Linked DNA regions of Homo sapiens: regions 1, 3 and 4 are each linked to region 2. Evidence: promoter capture Hi-C in 16 types of primary human blood cells and fetal thymus (Javierre and others, 2016). All regions are on one chromosome and are shown on one strand. Each heading gives the region's core, a stretch centred on a gene start or on the middle of the fragment in contact. The rest is flanking DNA. Distances are from core to core; before and after follow the strand shown.

Evidence for each region. Contacts are between HindIII fragments. The CHiCAGO score rates a contact against its expected background, and 5 or more counts as called.
Region 1: a contact is called between the fragment with the promoter of RPS16 here and the fragment with the promoter of IFNL2 in region 2, in 4 of 17 cell types (neutrophils, total B cells, erythroblasts and 1 more). The highest score is 21.7, in neutrophils.
Region 3: the fragment with the promoter of FBXO27 here is called in contact with the fragment with the promoter of IFNL2 in region 2 in 14 of 17 cell types (total B cells, total CD4 T cells, activated CD4 T cells and 11 more); the score reaches 8.3 in total B cells.
Region 4: the fragment with the promoter of DLL3 here is called in contact with the fragment with the promoter of IFNL2 in region 2 in 6 of 17 cell types (neutrophils, total B cells, monocytes and 3 more); the score reaches 20.4 in neutrophils.

Annotation. Positions count from the first base shown.
Region 1 is chr19:39,434,557-39,437,797 of GRCh38, reverse strand. It overlaps RPS16 (ribosomal protein S16), which reads left to right and starts at 1,849. Exons shown (of 5, transcript NM_001020.6): 1 at 1,849-1,950; 2 at 2,090-2,191. The coding sequence starts at 1,903. RefSeq lists enhancers at 1-412, 2,076-2,655 and a silencer at 1,596-1,695. The HindIII fragment of the contact is 27,347 bases long and covers 1-3,241 here.
Region 2 is chr19:39,266,500-39,269,739 of GRCh38, reverse strand. IFNL2 (interferon lambda 2) reads right to left here and starts at 1,344. Exons shown (of 6, transcript NM_172138.2): 1 at 1,162-1,344; 2 at 882-1,063; 3 at 511-588; 4 at 103-252; 5 at 1-2. The coding sequence starts at 1,171. The HindIII fragment of the contact is 23,103 bases long and covers 1-3,240 here.
Region 3 is chr19:39,031,200-39,034,256 of GRCh38, reverse strand. FBXO27 (F-box protein 27) reads left to right here and starts at 1,708. Exons shown (of 6, transcript NM_178820.5): 1 at 1,708-1,754; 2 at 2,004-2,393; 3 at 2,937-3,048. The coding sequence starts at 2,030. RefSeq lists silencers at 1,930-1,999, 2,060-2,209, 2,410-2,489, 2,640-2,879, 2,729-2,911 and enhancers at 1,821-2,613, 3,020-3,057. The HindIII fragment of the contact is 11,668 bases long and covers 1-3,057 here.
Region 4 is chr19:39,496,909-39,500,282 of GRCh38, reverse strand. DLL3 (delta like canonical Notch ligand 3) reads right to left here and starts at 1,336. Exons shown (of 9, transcript NM_203486.3): 1 at 1,240-1,336; 2 at 810-1,091. The coding sequence starts at 1,308. RefSeq lists a silencer at 1,957-2,016 and an enhancer at 1,640-2,632. The HindIII fragment of the contact is 3,955 bases long and covers 244-3,374 here.

The DNA.
Region 1 (3,241 bases), core at 600-3,099, 170 kb before region 2:
GAGAGGAACCTCTTCGCTGGGGAGACTCTTGATGGGGTGAGACGCAGGGACATCTGCCGGGGAACCAGAGGACAACCCAATCCTGGGGTTCCTCAGGTGGGGTTGGGGGGCTGGGGATGGAGAATTCTGTGGGGAGGAGGCTTAAGTGGAGGGTGATTTGGGGGAGAGGAAAAAGATGACTGGGAGATTCTGGAGAAAGAGATTCTAGGGGCTGGGCGCGGTGGCTCACGCCTGTAATCCCAGCACTTTGGGAGGCTGAGATGAGTGGATCATTTGATGTCAGGAGTTCGAGACCAGTCTGGCCAATATGGTGAAACCCCGTCTCTACTACAAATACAAAAATTAGCCGGGCGTGGTGGTGCATGCCTGTAATCTCAGCTACTCAAGAGGCTGAGGCAGGAGAATCGCTTTAACCGGGGAGGCAGAGGTTGCAGTGAGCAGAGATCATGCCACTGCACTCCAGCCTGGGCGACAGAGCAGGACTCTGTCTCAAAAAAAAGAAAAAAAAAAAACAAAAAACAGAGAGATTCGGCCGGGCGTGGTGGCTCACGCCTGTAATCCCAGGACTCTGGGAGGCTGAGGCGGATCACATCACCTGAGGTCAGGAGTTCGAGACCAGCCTGGCCAACGTGGTGAAACCCCATTTCTACTAAAAATACAAAAAACGACCAGGGCGTGGTGGTAGACGCCTGTAATTCCAGCTACTCGGGAGCCTAAGGCAGGAGAATCTCTTGAACCCGGGAGGCGGAGGTTGCAGTGAGACGAGATCGCACCACTGCACTCTAGCCAGGGCAACGAGCGAAACTCCGTCTCAAAAAAAAGAGAGAGATTCTAGGGTGGGGACGGGGAAGAGGTTAATTCTTGGGGGAGGGTCTCTTAGGAGAGGGGGATTCTAACGGAGGGAAAACTCCAGGGAAGGCAGTTGCTGGGAAGAGGAGTCTCGGAAGGGAAATAAACTCAGGAGAAAGGTAGATTTTGAGGGACGGGTCTCTGAGAGAAAAGTTTTTGTGGATTTGCGGGGCGGGGTGTTCTGGGAAAGGGGGATTTGCCGGGAAAGGGGGATTTGCCGGGAAAGGGAGATTCTGGAGGAGGGAGATTCCAGGGGTACTGGGTCCTGACAAGAGAAAGATTCTGGGAAGGGTGACTGAGGGGACGAGGACCGAATGGAGGGAGATTCAGGGAAAAGGGGGGTCTAAGTTGAGCACTCTTAAGAGGGACATTTGGGGTTGGCCATCTGAGAGAAGGATGGGAAACATTCTGGGAAGAGGAAACTGAAAGGAAGGACATTCTGGTGAAAGGGAGATTCTGAGGGGAAGGGGCTCTGAGGGGAAAAGGATTCTGGGAGAGGATCCCCAAGGAGGGGGATTCTAGGGAGGATAGGATTCTGGAAGTCCTTAATCTGAGAATCCAGCCAGATTTCTTGCAGTAGATTCCAAAGGAAGATTCTGATGCGGGGGATTCGGGGAGGAGGGAGTCCAGAGGGGAGAAAGATTACAGGTGTTGGGAGGGTGGGAACTGATTTAAAGAAAGGGCGAAGGGAGATTATTAAAGAGCCAGAATGCAAAGAAGAGCTGCGGTAGTCGACTACAGAGGACGCGAAGCACACTCCCGCAGCCTTCCCTTCAGTCCGCACACGACACTCCCAGGCCCCGCCCCTTCCGCCCACAGAGCCCGCCACTTCCGCCTCACAGGGCCCGCCCGCTCTGAGCGCCTAAGGGCCTTCCCGCCGCTGACCAGACGCCCCGCCCGTTAGCCGCAACAGAAGCCGTAAAGCTCTCTCCCGTCGCGACGCAGTGCTCAAGGCGCCTGCGCAGACCCTGAAAAGCGGCCAGGGTGGCCCCTAGCTTTCCTTTTCCGGTTGCGGCGCCGCGCGGTGAGGTTGTCTAGTCCACGCTCGGAGCCATGCCGTCCAAGGGCCCGCTGCAGTCTGTGCAGGTCTTCGGACGCAAGGTGAGCCAGACGCCGGATGGGAAGGGGAGGGGAAGGAGAAGGCCAGGGTCTGGGAGAGGTCGGTGGGCAGGAATCTAGGGGGTAACATGGGAGCTGGAGCCGGAGCTCACGGGGCCCCTGTTTCTCTTGTATCTTACAGAAGACAGCGACAGCTGTGGCGCACTGCAAACGCGGCAATGGTCTCATCAAGGTGAACGGGCGGCCCCTGGAGATGATTGAGCCGCGCACGCTACAGTACAAGGTGCTGGGATCCGGCACCGGCGTTGAGTGGATGGAGGACTCTTGGAGACAGAGATGTTGTAGCTCTTGAAAGCTGGGGGGGCTGGCATCAGCAACGGGATGTTTAGAAGTTGTGTTGGGTGTAGAACAGTGGGGTATTTGGCAATAGAGCTGGGCTTGGGGTTCAGAAGATGTAAAAGCTGAGATGGGGTTGTTGAAGATTAAGGGTTTGCTTTGAGAACTGGGATGTTAGGAAGCTCACCTCACTGGGGCGGGGGGACCCAAAGGGTGAAGGGACACCGACTATTTTTTATTTTATTTATTTGTTTTGAGAGGGAGTCTCGCTGTGTCGCCCAGGCTGGAGTGTAGTGGCGCGATCTCGGATCACTGCAACCTTCGCCTCCCGGGTTAAAGCGATTCTCCTGCCTCAGCCTCTTGAGTAGCTGAGATTACAGGCATGCACCACCACGCCCGGCTAATTTTTGTATTTTTAGTAGAGACGGGGTTTCGCCATATTGGCCAGAGTGGTCTCGAACTCATTACCTCAGGTGATCCACCAGCCTCGGCCTCCCGAAGTGCTGGGATTGCAGGCGTCAGCCACCGTGTGCGGCCGAATTTGGGTCTGTTTAAATGCTTGCTTGTAAAAGGGGTTCCTCTGTTCCCTTTTTGGGACTCTCAATTTCTTTGGCTCAGAATGGAAAGAAACCAGAGTCTGATTTCTGCCCCTTCTGAACTCTACTACTTTTAAAAGAAAGAATATCTACATTGCAGGGTCAGTTAAAAAAATTTTTTTTGAGTTATAAGGTTCTTTTTTAAAAACAGTATCTTGCTGTCACCTACCCTGGAGTGCAATAGCACAATCCTAATGAACTGCAGCCTTAAACTCCTGAGTTGGAGATCCTCCCACCTCAGCCTTTCGGTTGCCAAGACTACAGGCACATCACCACGCCTGGCTCATTTGAGAAATATTTTTCTGTAGACGTGGGGTCTCACTTTATTGCCCAGGCTGGTCCTTGGTCTCATGTGATCCTTCTGCCTGGACTGGGATTACAGGTGTGATCACCATGCCTGG
Region 2 (3,240 bases), core at 95-2,594:
ATCTGTGGGCAGAGGAGGGCGGTGTGTGAGCCGGGGCCTTGGCAAGGGGAAGGACGCTGCTCAGAGCTCACAGACCTGGGTGCCCAGGCCCCAACGACTCACACAGGCCCGGAACTGGGAGAGGATATGGTGCAGGGTGTGAAGGGGCTGGTCCAAGACGTCCACCAGGGCTGGGTCAGTGTCAGCGGTGGCCTCCAGAACCTTCAGCGTCAGGGCCAGCTCAGCCTCCAAAGCCATGGGGCGCTCCCTCACCTGAGGAGAGGTGAGAAAGAGCAGGTGAGGGGGGAGGTGAGGGGAACAGGTTGGGGAGCAGGATAGAGAGGAACAAGTGAAGGTGACAGGCACAGGGGAGAGGGCACAGCCAGTGTGGTCAGGTGGGAGCGGAGGGAAGGGAGAGCAGGTGTGAGGAGAAGAGAGAGAGACAAGGGAGAAAGAGACGGTGAAGGGGCCACTACAGAGCCAGGTGAGTGGGGCTGGGAGAGCAGGGGTGGGCCTGACTCCCCCTCTCACCTGCAGCTGCCTCAGGTCCCAGGTCCTGGGGAAGAGGCGGGAGTGGCACCTGCAGTCCTTCAGCAGAAGCGACTCTTCCTAGACAGCAAAGGCACAGGTTAGCCCCAGCAGGAGGGGTGGAGGTTAGACCATCCTGGTGGGATTGGAGGATGGCTGACAACAGGATAGGGGAGGTTAACTGCTGGGAGGATGGTAGAGGACCCTCTTCTACAGGAAAACATGAGTCAGTCCCTACAGTAGGAGCATGAGATAGCCCACTGCAGGGAGGGTGGAGGCTAGCCCAGTGAAGGAAGCTGGGAGTGGGAAAGCATGGTGACGCTTGGAGTGGGGGTGGAGGCTAGTCCATGGCAGGAGGGCAGGGGGAGACTCACTAAGGCATCTTTGGCCCTCTTAAAGGCCTGCAGCTCCTGTGGAGACAGGGACTTGAACTGGGCTATGTGGCAGCCCCTTGCATCCGGGAGAGCCCCGTGGAGCCTGGCGACAGGAACTGCTCCAGTCACGGTCAGCACTGCGGCCATCAGCACCAGCACTGGCGTGCAGTCCCCAGTCATGTCTGTGTCACAGAGAGAAAGGGAGCTGAGGGGATGGAGAGGCTGCCCACTGAGGGCAGGGGCTGCAGGAGCTGAGCACGGACAGAGATGTGGGACTCACCTAGTTTCATTCCTGATCTCTGGTCTTTGTCAGCAGAAGAAACACTCTGAGGCTGTCACCCAGGGTCTGTTTGGGTCTTGTCTGGAGTCTCTGTTCTTTTCAGTCCCCTCTTCTGGATCTCAGACTGTGTCCTGGCTTTGACTCTTTCTGTCAGTTTTGAGCTCTGTCTGGGATGTAATTCCTGCCTGAGCTCCATGGGGCAGCTTTTATCCCTGACAGAAGGGCAGTCCCAGCTGATGTAGGAAAAGTGAAAACACAGCCTCAGGTAAGACACCGGCCACCAGGGGAGCCCCAGGCTGGGAAAGCCCAGAGCAGGGCAGGGCTAGTGAGCCAGATGAGCAGCTGGAGGGAAAGAGAAACTGATGGAGACTCAGGGGTAACCTACAGGAAGGTATGTTCCCAGGAGGATTCCACCTGCTCTGGTTTTGTTGTTGTTTAAGACAGGGTCTCACTCTGTCACTGGAGTGCAATGGCATGATCACAGCTCACTGCAGCCTCAAACTCCTGGGCTCAAGCCATCCTCCTCACCCAGCCTATTAAAGTGCTGAGATTACAGGCCTGAGCCACCCCTCCTGGCATATATATATATATATATTTTGAGACAGGGTCTTGTTCGGTCACCCAGGCTGGAGTGCAGTGCAAAATCTTGACTAACTGCAACCTCCACCTCCTGGGTTCAAGCGATTCTCTTGCCTTAGCCTCCCAAGTAGCTGAGATTACAGATTTGTGCCACCATTCCCAGCTAATTTTTATGGTTTTAGTAGAGATGACAGTTCACCAATTGGCCAGGCTGGTCTCGAACTCTTGACGTCAAGTGATCTGTCTGTCTTGGCCTCCCAAATTGCTGGGGTTGCAGGCATGAGCCACTGTGCCCAGAGGCCATGATTTCTTTCTTTCTTTCTTTTTTCTTTTTTTTTTGAGATGGAGTCTTGCTCTGTAGCCCAGGCTGGAGTGCAGCAGCGTGATCTCGACTCACTGCAACCTCCACCTCCTTGGTTCAAGGGATTCTTCTGCTTCAGCCTCCCGAGTAGAAAGGACTATAGGCATGCACCACCACGCCCAACTAATTTTTGTATTTTTAGTAGAGACGGGGTTTTGCCATATTGGCCAGGTTGGTCTTGAACTCCTGACCTCGTGATCTGCCTTCTTCGGCCTCCCAAAGTTCTGGGATTATAGGCGTGAGCCACCGCGCCCGGCCAGAGGCATATATGTGTGTGTATATATATATATATATATATATATAGAGAGAGAGAGAGAGAGAGAGAGAGAGAGAGAGCATGAGAGAGAGTGAGTGAGCAAGAGAGATGGAGTCTCGCTCTGTTGCCCAGGCTGGAGTGCAGAGGCACCATCTCAGCTCACTGCAACCTCTGCCTCCTGGGTTCAAGTGATTCTCCTGCCTCAGCCTCTTGAGTAGCTTGGATTACAGGCATGTGCCACCATGCCCAGCTAATTTCTGTATTTTTAGTAGAGACAGGGTTTCACCATGCTGGCCAGGCTAGTCTTGAACTCCTGACCTCATGATCCACCTTCCTCGTCCTCCCAAAGTGCTGGGATTACAGGCATGAGCCTCTGAGCCCAGCCAAGGCCAATATTTCTTAATTGCCCAGGCAAGGAAGGACTCAGGAATATGAGGCTCTGCTCAAGAACTGAGGTGTGACGAAGGACTTGAAGGACACCACGTGGGTGCCGTCTTTCTTAGGGAAGTTCAGGCAGTGGTGAAGAGCATGGGTCTTGGAGATGAAGGGTCTGGGGTTCAAACCTGGTTCTGACCCTCACTAGCCGTGTGACCTTGGCAAGGAGGGGTGCATTCAGCAACGCAGATTGCTAATGCACAGATTTGGAGAAAAAATTAATAACACAATTGTTTGTGTATTTATGTGAGTGATTATTTAATAGAATCCACTCATTAAGACCATACTAGGACCTCAGTTGGAGAGTTTAAAACGTGATCTCAACGGACACTACTCCTCCACAAGGCAAGTATGCTAACCCATCCTATAGGTGAGGAAACAGAGGCTCAGAAAAGTAATTTGCCCTGAATTCCACTGTAATTAACTGGCAGGGTCAGAACTGAACCTC
Region 3 (3,057 bases), core at 459-2,958, 240 kb after region 2:
TGTCGAAGCCAAATAAAATATAGAGATATAGAGACAAATCTCTCGATTTAAAATGTTTTGTTGCGGTGGCTCATGCCTGCGATCCCAGCACTTTGGGAGGCTGAGGCGGGCAGATCACCTGAGGTCGGGAGTTTGAGACCATCCTGGCCAACATGGTGAAACCCCGTCTCTACTAAAAATACAAAAATTAGCTGGGCATGGTGGCATGCGCCTGTAATCCCAGCTACTCGGGAGGCTGAGGCAGGAGAATCGCTTGAACCCATGAGGCGGAGGTTGCAGTGAGACGAGATTGCATCACTGCCCTCCAGCCTGGGCGACAGAGCGAGACTCTGTCTCAAAAAAATAATAAAATGTTTTATTTGGGAAGCAAGAATTGACATTCGAGGCATCCACACAGACCAGGCGGTCTTCAGAACTTTCAAAGAACAAAGAGGTTAGAGGTTTTTATAAGAAACAGAAATGTTAGGTATTGTTTTGCAAGAAAGTTCATTGACACTAGCAACGTTCTGGGGAGCTGGCAAGTTCTGACTGGTAAGTGACAGCAGAGGGAAAAACTAGTCTTAGAGTCACGGCAGGTTTTTTCAGTACCAGTTAGACTGCTTCCAGGTTACAACAGGCAGTTTTAACAGCCAGGCTTGCAGAGAATCACTTTCTTGGAGCAATGGTATCTGCCCTAAGTGTTTTCCCCCCGGCCTCTCAACTTTGTTTTAGTTGGATATGACAAGAAGGATCCAATTCACATGATCAACTTTCACAATTTTTTTTTTCTGTTTGTTTTTTGAGACGGAGTCTCACTCACTCTTTTGCACAGGCTGGAGTGCAGTGGTGCAATCTCTGCTCACTGCAACCTCCCCCTCCCGGATTCAAGCAATTCTCCTGCCTAAGCCTCCAAATTAGCTGGGATTACAGGCGCGTGCTACCACGCCCAGCTAATTTTTGTATTTTTAGTAGAGACGGGGTTTCACCATGTTGGCCAGGCTGGTCTCGAACTTCTGACCTCAAGCGATCCGCCTGCCTTGGCCTCCCAAAGTGCTGGGATTACGGGCATGAGTCACCGCACCCAGCCACAATTGTATTTTTATTGGACAGAGCTGATCTAGAGGTTAAAATGAGGAATTCCGGAGCTAGGCTGGCTGGATTCAAATCCCTACTAGCTGGTGATCATAGACAAGCCACTTGGCCTCTGCTGGTCTCAGTTTTTTCACCTGTGAAGTAAAGGGCATAACAGCACCTACTTCATGGGGTTGCCACCCTGGCTGGCAGTAAAACCGTCCATAAAAGTTGGCTGGTGTTACTATTGGTTGCATTAATTTTTAGCAGCCGGAGCCTGTTTTCTCCTGTGAAATGAAGATAACCACGCCCGACCTTAAAGGTGATGGAAATTTTTTAACACGTTAACGGATACGAGGCCTCCCACTCAGAAGCCTGACCAAAATAACAATGGTTGCTCAGAGCCAGACGTCTCATTGCTACTAACGAATTAGGGACACTTCAAGGGGCCGGCTGGAGGGGACGGCTGTGAGCAGCAGGCCTTGGCTCCTGGCTGCACCTGGCCCCGTCGCGGGAAGCAGGTTGGGTTTGGAGAGCGGGAGGGAGCAGGCGGGAGGGGCTGGCGAGTAAGAAAGAGGATGCAGGGGTGGGTGAAGCTGGCTAGTAAGAGGGGAGGGGCCGGCGAGTAAAAAGGACGCAGAGGGGCGTGGGGAGCTTGCGGCACAGCTAGGGCATCCCGGCGAGGAGCGCCGCCAGGCCCCGGGGTAGGACTTGGGGTGCGGTGTCGGTGCGGCCGCCGAGGGGGGCTGATTGCATGCAATTCGGGGCATACACACAGACCGCGGGGTCTCCGGGATATCGGGGCTATCAAGGACGGGCTGGGGGATGGGGACTTGGGGACGGGGCCCAGGGATGGTGAAGACGGGGGTGCGGCTGGCAGAATCAGGGCAGGCAGAGGCTGCGCGCCGCGGAGGCTGCTGGTCCCTGACGCCTTGACCCTTCCTCTCCCGCAGCCACAGCCGGGCCTGGCGGGGGGACCATGGGCGCCTCGGTCTCCAGGGGCCGGGCCGCCCGGGTCCCCGCGCCGGAGCCGGAACCCGAAGAGGCGCTGGACCTGAGCCAACTACCCCCAGAGCTGCTTCTGGTGGTGCTGAGCCACGTCCCCCCGCGCACGCTGCTCGGGCGCTGCCGCCAAGTGTGCCGGGGCTGGCGAGCCCTGGTGGACGGCCAGGCCCTGTGGCTGCTGATCCTGGCCCGCGACCACGGCGCCACCGGCCGCGCGCTGCTGCACCTCGCCCGCAGCTGCCAGTCTCCCGCCCGTAACGCCAGGCCTTGCCCCCTGGGCCGCTTCTGCGCGCGCAGACCCATCGGACGCAACCTTATTCGCAACCCCTGCGGCCAAGGTGGGATCTCGGAAGAGGAAGTCCAGGATGCTGGGCCACAGTGGGAGCGGTAGCGGGGCCGGAGGGGCGGGGCCGCACTGGGACCGGTACTAGGGGCCGCAGGGGCAGGGCCGCAGTGGGACCGGTGGGAGGAGTCGGAGAGGCGGGGCAGCATTGGGAGCCGGTGTGAGGTGCCGGAGGGGCGGGGCAGCATTGGGAGCCGGTGGGAGGTGTCGGAGGGACGAGGCAGCATTGGCACGCAGGGTGCAGGGCTGACTGGGCAGGGCTTCACCGTTTGCCTGTGGGAGGGGTGGGAGTGGGGCAGTTCTGGGAGCCCGAGAGAGGGGTTGGAGGGGCAGGGCTTTGCTGCAAATCAGTGAGAAGGGCCAGAGGAGCGGGGCTTTGCCCTGAGCTGGTGGGAGGGGAAGGGGGCGGGGCCTCGGTGGGAAGGGTCAGGTGAGTGAGCTGCACTGTGAGCACGTGGGAGGGGCTAGGGGCGGGGTCTCACTAGGAACCAACAGGCGGGCGACTGGAACTTGGGCACAAGCCTTTTTTATTTCACAGAAGGCCTCCGAAAGTGGATGGTGCAACACGGTGGGGACGGCTGGGTGGTGGAGGAAAACAGGACAACCGTGCCTGGGGCCCCTTCTCAGACGTGCTTCGTGACTTCATTCAGGTGAATGCC
Region 4 (3,374 bases), core at 87-2,586, 230 kb before region 2:
TATGTTTTTTTTTTTTTTTTAGAAACGAGGTCTCACTATGTTACTGAGACTGGTCTCAAACTGCCGGGCTCAGGAGATCCTCCTGCCTAGACCTCCCAAAGTGCTGGAATTACAGTGTGAGCGACTGGACGTGGCTTGCTTTATTGAGCACTTACTACGTGGTAAGCACTTTATTCAAGAGATGTGGTTGAATCGCTCAAAAGGGACCCTTGTGAGGTACCAGGATGATCCCATTTTTAAGCTTAGGAAACTGAGGCTGGAAACCAGGCAGTCACTTGTCCAAAAGGACAAGGGTCAAGCATTGCAATACAGGTCTGTTCATCTTTGTGCCTTTGGGTTGTGGGGGTGGGAGACAGGATTTTGGAGGTGAAAGAGTAATTAATACAGGACCCAACTGAAAGAACTGAGGACAGAAAAAAAAAAAAAAAGAGAGAGAAGATATTAGTGGTCCCCAAGACAAGGTGTGAGAGGTTTGGGGATAAAGATGAGGACCACAGTTTTTAGGGATCCCCAAGGAGCAGAGGTAGGGTTCCTTGAGTTTAGGATTTCAGAGCTTGGGTTTGAAATTCTGGGAATTTGGGGTCCCAGCATCCAGGGTTGGGGAATCAGAACATTTAGAATCCCCAGTGTGTAGAGTTTAGAGGTCTGTGAATGTGGGGTTCCAGACGGTAGAGTTACTGGTCTGGGAATTTCGTCCACCCCCTGGGAGGCAGGATTAGGGTCTTGGAAGCTGGAGGGGAGAGGAGGTGGAGGTTTCGCTGGCAGGGTTAGGCCTCCAGCACCGGGAGTCCCCCGGGGGCAGCACTTACAGGCCAGGCGTCCCGGAAGGGCACCTGCAAGAGGCCGTCGGGCAGTGGGAGATCAGGCGCGGGCGCTCCGGGCTGCTCGGTGTAGACCGGTCCGCGCGCACTCAGCGCCGCGCCCAGGGCGCACGGGGACTCGGCGGCCTCCTCTGAGAGCCCAGGCTTCAGGCAGACTCTGAAGAAGAGGCGGCAGGGGAGCCGGGCGCTGCAGGGGGACCGCGGGGCCCCAGGGCCTGGACCCGGCCCGAAAGAGTGGATCTGCAGCTCGAAGACGCCAGCGGGCCGTGTCTGGGACGGAGACGGGCGCAGGGTGAGGCGGCCGGGAGGACCCAGGCTTCCCGTCCGCCCCACGCTCCTTCCCCAGGACCTTCAGGTCGCACTCACCCCTCCCCTCCGCATTCATCCCTTTCCACGCCACCTCCCACCTGGCTCTGACCTGGGGGAGGAAAATGAGCGCTAGGATCACAGTCTGGGAGAGGAGCCCGGACATCCGTGGGGAGACCATGGCCTTCTGGTGGGGGGGTCTCGGGAGTCGCAGCTGCTGGCTTCCAAGCCTTATATCTGAGAGAATGGCCCCGCCCCTTCAGGCAGCTACCCGGCCCCAAGGGACCAAGGGCGGGGCGGGGGGGGCGGTCACAGGGGAGGGGGAGCGTGCAGGAGCAACAGCGAGATTCCGTCTGTGGTCGTGGGCACGAGCGAGGTCATGCGTGGGTGATCCCGCGACTTTTTGTGTGGCTAGGGTGGGGTGGGGTTAGGGGGCTAAGCCTGTGTGTGAGGTTGTACATGATTTTAAGATTTTGTGTGTGTGGTATGAACCAGAGCTACCGGAGGGTGCACATGACTTTGTCATTGTGAGTCCACGTGGGACTGTGCGGCTCAGCATACGCCTGGAGTTGTGTGTGATTGACACATTTATGAGGTTGTAAACAATTCTGATTCTGCACGCACACCCGAGTGGGACACTAGAAGTGTACACGACTTCGTGATTGTGTGACGCTTTGAGATTGTGTGGCTGTGTGGCTGCTTCTCTGTGCGTGTGTGTTTATGGGAGATCCTGTATAGGCGTATAAACCTGTGACTTTGTGCTCTGTGCGGGTGTGGTAGAGGCTGTGCAAGGTGGTGAATGGCTGAGGGCGCCTGTGTGTGAATGAGACTGGGTTTGAGAGGTCCACGGATGCAGCCGCGTGTGAATACGATGAAGATCCGGAGTTCTTTGTAGACCCCTGTGTGCGCTGGTTTGTGTGAATGAGACTGGGTTTGGGAGATCCACGGGTGTAGCTGTGTGTGGATACGATGAAGATCCAGGGCTCTTTGTGGACCCCTGTGTGCAGGCGTGTGTGTGTTCCCCCTCCGCAAGACAAAGCCACCCTCCCAAACCCCGCATCGCGGACGCACCAGACGCCAGGGCGAGGAGCTCGGCCTCAAGAGGGGGCTCCCAGCTGTATGTAAATGCCGCCATCTGCCGGGCGGCCGAGCCCCTCCCCCTTCGGGCCGCAGCTGGGCTGCCCGTTTGGCCTCCGGAAGGTGTGAGGAGCAAATGGGCAGGAAATTCCGTCTTCACATACAGGGACCCGCTCCCCCACCCCAGAAGAACTGGGGGGGGGGACATCCCGGGCCCTTCAGAAACCCTTTAGTATTCCAGGACCTCAGCAGGAAAAGCCAATTAGGAGCAGATGTCCCAGCCCCTCTGGTCATAATTGCTCCCTGCCAGGCATGGGGCAAAACCCTTGAGCTGGGGTAACTTCTTTTTTTTCCCCCCCAAAGTAAAAAACTTTAGTGCTTAGAGGCTAATAATTATAGGGGAAAATACAGGTTCAATTTATATGTCTTTTTCCAGAGAAGTAAGATATAGTAACCAACGAAGCCTAGCCCAGCAGAGCCAGGCATACAGTAGGCGCTCTGTTTTTTGTTGTTGCTGTTGTTGTTTTTTTCAGAAGAAGAAGTTTTGCTCTTGTTGCCCAGGCTGGAGTGCAGTGGTGCGATCTTGGCTCACTGCAACCTCCACCTCCCGGGTTCAAGCGATTCTGCTGCCTCAGCCTCCAGAGTAGCTGGGATTACAGGCACCCACCAACACACTCGGCTAATTTTTTATATTTTTAGTAGAGACGGGGTTTCACCATGTTGGCCAGGCTGGTCTCGAACTCCTGACCTTCAAGTGGTCCACCCACCTCGGCTTCCCAAATTGCTGGGATTACAAGCATGAGCCACTAATCCCTGCGCAGTTAATTTTTTAATGAATGAAAGAAGACCAGGCTGGGCACAGCGGCTCACGCCTATAATCCCAGTACTTTCCGAGGCTGAGGCAGGGGACTGCTTGAGGCCAGGAATTTGAGACCAGCCTGGGCAACACAGCAAGACACACTTTTCTACAAAAAAAAAGAAAAGGAGGAGGAGGAGGAGAAAAAAACAGCCTAAAGATTCTTCTCTTAATTCTGACAACAGTGGCGTTTGAGCAAGGCAGCGCCATGGGTCAGATTGGGCAGAACATCCCAGGCTCCTTTTCCCTGTATTTGTCTTTTCCACTCCCTTATTTTTTTTTAATTTATTATTATTGTTTGAGATGGAGTTTTA